Regions from separate parts of the Homo sapiens genome. Here region 2 is linked to region 1. The links are contacts of gene promoters, found by promoter capture Hi-C in blood cells and fetal thymus (Javierre and others, 2016). All regions are on one chromosome and are shown on one strand. The core of a region is centred on a gene start or on the middle of the fragment in contact, and the rest is flanking DNA. Distances in the headings are between cores, read along the strand shown.

The links. The method cuts DNA at HindIII sites, captures the fragments that hold promoters and counts their contacts. A CHiCAGO score of 5 or more calls a contact.
Region 2: a contact is called between a fragment that was not itself captured here and the fragment with the promoter of CFAP65-AS1 in region 1, in 3 of 17 cell types (endothelial precursors, M1 macrophages and M0 macrophages). The highest score is 6.9, in endothelial precursors.

The regions. Positions count from the first base shown.
Region 1 is chr2:219,000,149-219,003,906 of GRCh38, reverse strand. CFAP65-AS1 (CFAP65 antisense RNA 1) reads right to left here and starts at 1,692. Exons shown (of 3, transcript NR_046086.1): 1 at 1,607-1,692. It overlaps CFAP65 (cilia and flagella associated protein 65), which reads left to right. Exons shown (of 35, transcript NM_194302.4): 34 at 635-772; 35 at 886-1,061. The coding sequence ends at 970. It overlaps MIR375 (microRNA 375), which reads left to right and starts at 2,199; the gene lies at 2,199-2,262. RefSeq lists enhancers at 1,626-1,920, 3,363-3,758. The HindIII fragment of the contact is 13,795 bases long and covers 1-3,758 here.
Region 2 is chr2:219,105,868-219,109,625 of GRCh38, reverse strand. All of the region lies in intron 5 of NHEJ1 (non-homologous end joining factor 1), which reads left to right. Among named protein-coding and RNA genes, the nearest start is that of IHH, 47 kb to the right of the region's middle. The HindIII fragment of the contact is 1,789 bases long and covers 758-2,546 here.

The sequences.
Region 1 (3,758 bases), core at 443-2,942:
GAAGGTTCCTAGGAGGCAGTGGGATGCCAAGGATGGCTGCTGCCTGTATGCACATCTCATCCTAATTCAGTGCTTAGTGAGGTCATGTTGGTAGCTTAAGGCCTCTGTGGGAGTATCCGCCCGGCACCAACACTGAACTTTATTCTTTTTTCTCTAAGAACTAGTTGTTGACATTTACCAACTTACCAGGAGAATTGTTATAGTCTGCAAAGTCTTGTAAATGGGCTTCTAGAGCCAGAAAAGGACCACCTGTCTTGCAGGTGGGACTTCCCGCCGGGGCTGCCCTACAGATGATTTATGTCATTGTAGGGATTCCCTAGGCCCCACCCAGTCCCTTCTGCGCCCTCTCATCACTTCCCTACCTTTCTCTAAACTTGGCCCTGAGATGCCTACTACATCGCCTGGGTTTGAATCCCACCCCTTAAACCAGCAGCATATTTGGCAACTTGGAATCTTTTAGCCACACTTGGAACGTCCGTAACATTGAAACAAGAATGCCCCATAGTGTAGTGGATGAGGGGAGTCGAATGGGAATCTCCGTAGAGCTCGCGGCACAATGTACCGCACGGACAGGCGAGCGAGGAGGCGCGCGGGCACTGCGGCCGCCCTCATGCTAGCCCCCGCCCCCTCGCAGGCTCCCGGCCTTCGCCAACCTGCAGGAGGCGCTGCTGGAGAACATGATCCAGAACATCCTGGTGGAGGCGAGCCGCGGGGAGGTGGTACTCACCTCGCGGCCACGCGTCATCGCCCTGCCGCCGTTCTGCGTGCCCAGGTAAGGGCGCCGGGACCAGCGGCCGCGCAGACCGCGCGAGAGGGGCCACGGGGGCAGCCAGGCTCTGCCCGAAGCCTCGCCCCCACGCCTACCTGGGACTTTTTGTCTTCCAGGAGTCTGACCCCGGACACGCTGCTGCCGACGCAGCAAGCAGAGGTACTCCACCCGGTGGTGCCACTTCCTACCGACCTTCCGTAAATGCCCGCGCCCAGCCTCTCCGACATGCCGCTAGGGGTCACGCCTGGCCCCCTCTCCACCGCCAGTAAAAGCATCTAGTCTTTTTTCTGTATCTACCTTGACTTTATTTCCCCGACGAGGGGGAACGCGCGCGCGAGCTCTGAGAGGGAAGGATGGCAGGGAGCAGCCCGGGCGGACTGCAGAGGCGCGGCGGGAACTTAGGGCCCGGGAGGATGCACCTCTCCGCCCACACTGCAGCTGGACTGAGACCTGGCCGCTAGCTGCCGGCCGCTGGACCGGGTCTGGCCAGTGGAGGGCGCTCCGGACGGGGCCTGGCTGGCCTTTGCCCCAGCGCACCTTGGTGCACAGTAACTGAGTGCCAGGCCTGGCCAGCGAAGCAGGTGTCCACTGGGCAGGGCGGCCACCCCTCACCTTTCCGCGCCGCGCCTGCTCGGAGGCTTAGCACCCCCAGGGCCAGCCCCTTAGCATTTGCCGAGCTCCGAGTGCCCAAGAGGCTGGGGAGGAAGAACTGAGGCACGCCGCGGAGGGCCAGGAACTAGGCTGGGGCGGGTCGAGGTCACCACTGGATTTCGGGCCACAGACCCTGCTAAGCGACTCCCACTGTGAATCAGTCCTCAGACGAGGATGGATACCCACCTCTCGGTTCCTCCTAACCCCCGCCCGGGAGCTTCTGTCCTCTGCTTCTCGGCTCCTCCCTCCCAGAGGCAGGTGGGTGGAAAAGTGACATCTGGTGTTGTTCCAGAGGCGCCCAGGGTCCCCAGCACCCTCCCCTCCGCCCCCGCCACCAAGGCCTCGGAGAAGCTCCGGTCTCAGAGCCCGGGCGGGGGAGGGGGGAGCGCTCCGCCTCCATGAGTCAATATTTGCCCCGAGCAAACGGGCGCCTGGACAGGTGTGAGTGTGTGTGTCTGGGGGCGGGGACTGAACAGGCAGTATAAGAGCACACGGAGCCCGGGCTCCGGGACAAGCTCCAAGGCGTGGGCTGGGGACGAAGCCAAGCTAGGCTGGGCCGGGCGGAGGGGCCAGGAAAGCCGGGCGGAGGGTGGCTGGGAAAGGAGGGGCGGGCCAGGTGCGCACCTGCGGTGGCCGCCGCGGCCGCCGACGTGTCAGCCGCAGATGCGTTCAGGTGAGGGCGGAGGCTAGCGGGGCGCTGTGCAGCACTGAGCTCGCGGAAGACCAGGACCAGGAGATCACCGAGGGCGACCGCCAGGCCCCGGGCCCTCCGCTCCCGCCCCGCGACGAGCCCCTCGCACAAACCGGACCTGAGCGTTTTGTTCGTTCGGCTCGCGTGAGGCAGGGGCGGCCTCTCAGCACCAGCCCGGGGGCCGGCCTGATCGCCACGCAGGCACCTGCCGCCGCCACCGCCACCGCCATCTCAACCGTACGGGTGGGAGAGGCTGTGCGCCGCTCCAGGGGAGATCCGGCTCCCATCCGGCCCCACCCGCCCTGCCTTGCCCTGCCCGCAGCTTCTGGGCTGCCAGGCTCCATTCTGCGTCGTAATACGGGCTGAGCCGGCTCCAGCGGGTGGCGAAGGGGGCCGTGGCCCAGAACAGAAACCCTTCTGGAGGTGGAAACCCGGATTCTAGTCCGCCTCTGTCCCCGCGACTTCTATGGCCTTGGGCAAGTCATTTCCCGGCCTCTTGGTTTTCCCATTTGCTCAGTGAACGGTTGGTCTGGCCTCCCGCAGGGGCTAGGCCCTCCCCAGCCTCCTGTCCCGGTTCCTGGGCTCCTGGTCATGCTGGGGAAGATGCAGGCCCTCACGGAGTTGGAGCCAAGGCTGAGGTGTGGAAAATCTGGGCGGGGGAAGCTGAGGGCCACCATGGAGCCTCAAATCCACTCCTCGGATCTCTGTGGTGCTGCTGACATCCTGAGATGTCACTCCCTGACACTCCCTTGGTCCCTCTTTCAGTCTAAAAACGTCTGAGACAGTCAGACTGACTGAAAAGGACAAGCCCCCAGGCACAGCGGTTCACCACCTTCCTCAAACCTCAGAATCCCACATCCTCGCTTCCATCAGCTGGGGTGGGGTAGGTAGGTGGCCCTCAGCTCAGGCAGAGGCAGCCCCGGGAGATGGGAACCAGGGTCAGAAGTCCCTCCAAACTGCATGTTCCTAGAGGTGCTGGATTGTCCCCTCCACCACCACCCGCTCTAGTGCCCCTATGTCACCCAACTACCCAGAGGCCCCAAAGGATCTGCTGAGCCCGAGTCCGTGGCACAGAGAGAGAAGGGGGAGGGGCGAGATGGCGTTGGACAGATCCCAGGCAGGTTTAGGGAGAGGGTGGACTACAGCAGGGCTCTTCGTGGAGCAGCCCCAGGGGCAGGGGAAGGTCCTTGGGTCCTGGGCTAGGGTGTGTGCAGCCCTCTCCTGGCCCCCCTGACCAGGCTCTGTCCTGGGCCAGCCCTTTACTCTGCCTGGCACTGAAAGATTTGCCTGTCAGGGGCCTGGCATGGTCCTGGTGCACCTTCCCTGTGTCTTTGAGGGCTTCCCCTTCCCTCCCCAACCATGTCAGGGGCCAGGATTCCACATCCTGGGTTTGCACAACAAAGAGATCTCTGCTTGGAATGACCCCCTCCCAAACACACACACACACACACACACACACACACACACAGCCTTGAGGGGAGGGTGGTGAGAAGGAGGCAGCCACCCAGTGGGCGGGGATCTTTCCTGGTGACTGAGAATTACTGCCCCTTCACCCCAGGGCCTAATTTCCCCAGTCCCCCACCCACTATCCATCCTAAGACTGCAGTTGCTGGCCATTACCAGGGATCTGGCCTCTCATCCAGGTCC
Region 2 (3,758 bases), core at 403-2,902, 110 kb before region 1:
CACGCAGAGTCTGCCTGCATTGTGAATGGTTGTAGTTGGGACACAGAGAGCCCTTGATGCAGCAAGTGCTTCTTGTGACATCAGCTCTGTGGCTTTAGGGGGAAGGCTGTGGCTCTGGGTCCCCAAGGGAGGGGGCTGTTTTTCTCTTCTTGATCCTTCACGTTGGTGCCCGTCTGACTTATAAACTTTAATGGCCAGTTTTAAAGGTTACTGCCATGGGGCACCTTTGTTGCCAGTTTTAGTTTTTTAATTTGGAAACTTTTTTTTTATCCTTTGTGGTCTTGGGAGGAAAGATTTGGGACCATTTGGGGCTGGGAATTGGTATTTGTGAGTGATGATGAGATAGCACAGCAGCATTCTGGTTCTGGCTCCAATAACCAGAATCCCTGGCATATTATCCAGTTGCCCAAATGAACCCCAAAATGAGAAGGAAAAGACTGGCATTGAGATGTGTAGTCTTAGGCAGCATCAGTCAAGGATGTAGAGGGTTGGGGGCTTGTTGTTCTGTCTGAGAATGGTAACCATAGTTTAGGTGCTGGGGCACTGGAAAAAGAAAGAGATATCTCACTCTTATTCTAAGTCTCTTAACTCTTCTTTCATCTCTAGTCCCAATCCTTTGTTCTGAATATAGATGTCATTGACAGTGGTTAAGTTTAATTGGGATGGGAACAAGGGTTCAGATGTAGAATACACAGGGGAATGTGGCCCATGGTGGTTTCCCCACTGTAGCACAGGTATAGAACTAACAGAGTAAGCTTCACTGAGTCTTTTTGCCATTAACTCTTATACCTTAGAAAAACCTTTTTTTTTTTCCACCCAGGATAACTTCACAAAGCCTCATATGCCAAAAAAGGGTCATTGCCCATCTCAGTAATCTGTATCTCTAGGGGGAAAACAGTATTATAGAATAATACTCAAATAATAGCATCTTGGAATCAGAAGGGATTATTTATAGCACTCTCATAAAACTATCTTATTCAGGTCCTCTGTCTGAAACTAAGAATATGTGGAACTTAAAATGTATTTGGTAAGTGCTAGAAAAGAATTTTTAGAAGTTTAGTTCTGAGCGTGCCTCCTGCCTGGGTACTTTTTTGTGGATGACTAGAGTAGTAACACAAATAAATGGACAGATAATCTAACAAATAGACCCTAGGAAAAGGCAAACACATGAATCCAAGGGTGCTTAGATGCTTGCTCAAAGACATAGGCTCTTTACTTAACTGTTGGCTGGTGTCCTTGATAGCCAAAACCTATCTTTCACTCTCTAGCATTTGGATGGATTAGACTGAACTCAGGATTCAACTCTGGATGAACTTAGAGAATTCAGGAAAGGAGGCTGCTGTGGAAGGACGGACACTCAGCTCTTCAAGATGTGTGGAAGGAGGGCAGAGCCTTCTGACAGTTTTGATACTGTTCACAAGGCATATAATACAGGGTCTTGGATTCAGATCTCACTCCTGGCTGTTCTTCCTGGGCTGGACAAAGCTAGATTTTCTTCTTGTTCCCTGTGTTACAGGGCAGGGGAGGAGGTGTGGGGGTTGGCTCGGGGCTGGGCCACAATTAGTGACCTGGAAGCTGGGCTGGGCACCCAGAAGCTATAAATAGCAGTCATGGCGCAGTCGCTGAGCGGACTCGAAGCCCAGCCAGACTAGCCGCGTTTCAAGTGGTCTGGGTGGGATTTTTTTTTTTTCTCTGTTAACCATTTGTACATCTGGTTTCCTAGTGTTGGTGGGGCAAGGGAGGAGGGTGGGGCTGTAAGCAGAACAAGAAGTTCGTATGTGGAGTAACTTCTTGGTTAGTTTTGCCATATGTATATCTTGGAGCTTCTAGAGCCCTTAGAACCAGTATGGACTCTGGGAGTGAGAATTGTGGCCCTTAGAGGGAGATTAGGCCCCAGAGCAGGGCATGTGGTATGGGAAATACCTGCAGGGCACATGCCACTAATTTAAGGTATGGTGGATGTTCCTGAAGACAGAGAGAGAAGTGGGGTCCATATGGAGCAACTAAGATTATTTGGGAGCAGCCTGGGGCTTCTTATTTCTCCTTACTCTGTGAAACAGTTCCTCTGTCCCCACGATGCCAGTCTGCTTACCTTCTTCCTGATAGACATTGCTGTTTCTTGCTTCTCTGCATTTGTTCCTGTCATCTGCCCTGGGTTTTGAAATCAGAATACTTTGATTTGAATTCCAGTTCTTCCACTTTTTTGATTTGTCACCTGGGCATATTATTATGCTCCCTGGGGTTCATCTGTCAGACGAGCAATTTTGATCAGATACACCCTGAGGTTCCTTCTAGCTTTTGTAAACCATAAATTGGTTTCAATCAATCGATTTCTATTTTTCCTCTTCAGGAAGAAAATTTCACTTCTGCTGGGAAGCCCTCCCTGAATGATCAGTTCAGTTATCTTCCCCTGATTTGACAGATCATTAGCAGTTATATAGCTCATTTATCCTCCTTTCTCTTGCATATATCATATGTTTCTTTGCAGTTATTTTCTTGCTGTTTTCACATACTTACCTTTTTTCTCTTCAAGTAGATTAGAAGCTTGTTGAAGCAGGACACCATATCTTCTATATCGCTCTCTCAGCACTCATTATCAATGTTGTGGGCACCATTGAAGCCCACTCAAGTGTACTAGAAGGCAGGTAGGCCGACTTGGAGTAGAATGGGAAATAGGAAAAAATGAATATTTTTTCAGCAAATGCCAGTTTGAGAGGTGTTTTTGTTAGAGTAAAATGGAAAACAGCAAATGAGAACACAGGTTAGAAATTTCATGCATTTTACCAAACTGTGGGATTCCAGTTCACTGCTTTGCTGACTGTCTGTACTTTTTCTTTTCTCATCTTCTCTTGAAGATGAGCACAGTCTGAATCTGTGGGTTTTTTGGGCACTGTTTAATAACATTGAGTATGGCGCTACATTTTGCATAATGGTAAAAGGGCTTTCTGTTCCAAGCATAGGCTCTTTGTATTAGGTTTCAATAATCCATCTGTTGTAGGCCTCCTTTATGCCTGAAGATGAGGATATAACACTTGTAGATATCTGTGAAAATGTATATGGCCTTGTTTTCTCTGAGTCCAAGGAGAGCAGTGTCTCTTTTGCTTGGCTTTCTGTCACAGGGCTTTGATCTCCCGTCCCTTGTCTCATCCTTTCTCCTACTTTGAGCCCACTGGACCAGGCTAAACAATTCCTCCCCTCTTGGGTGTTTACACTCTCCCAGTGTTAGCAGAAGGTTATCATGTCTAGTCTCAGACGTCACTTAGGCCATCTGTCTAACTTGAGCCCCTAATCGCTCCTTTTTTATCCTTTCCTCCCCCACCCCAAGTCAATTATGTGACCCTCCCTGGAACTTCTTCAAACTTATCTCTACAGTTTTGGTGCCAGGGTGCCTGACATTGGGCGCAGGAGCCAGGCAAGGTCTTCTTAGACCCAAGAGAAAAAGACCATTTCTCTGTCTTCAAGGCATGATGCCTCCTAGTCCTGGGATCTGAGGCAGCTTAGTTTTGCTGGTATTACCTTTCTTTCCATTCATTCATGGAATGAACGTTTAGTGAGCACTTAGTATATGCTGGTGCCTTATTAAACACCAAGAATATAATTCTATTTTATTAAACTTAAAAGACATTTAAGTAATTACTATTTGCAAGGCATTATGTTAGAAGATGGATCTTCAAGGAAAACTGAAACTGAAACCTTGCCTTCAAGGAGCTTATAACCCCATGGAAGAATTGGACATGTAAATACTGAATTGAAATACA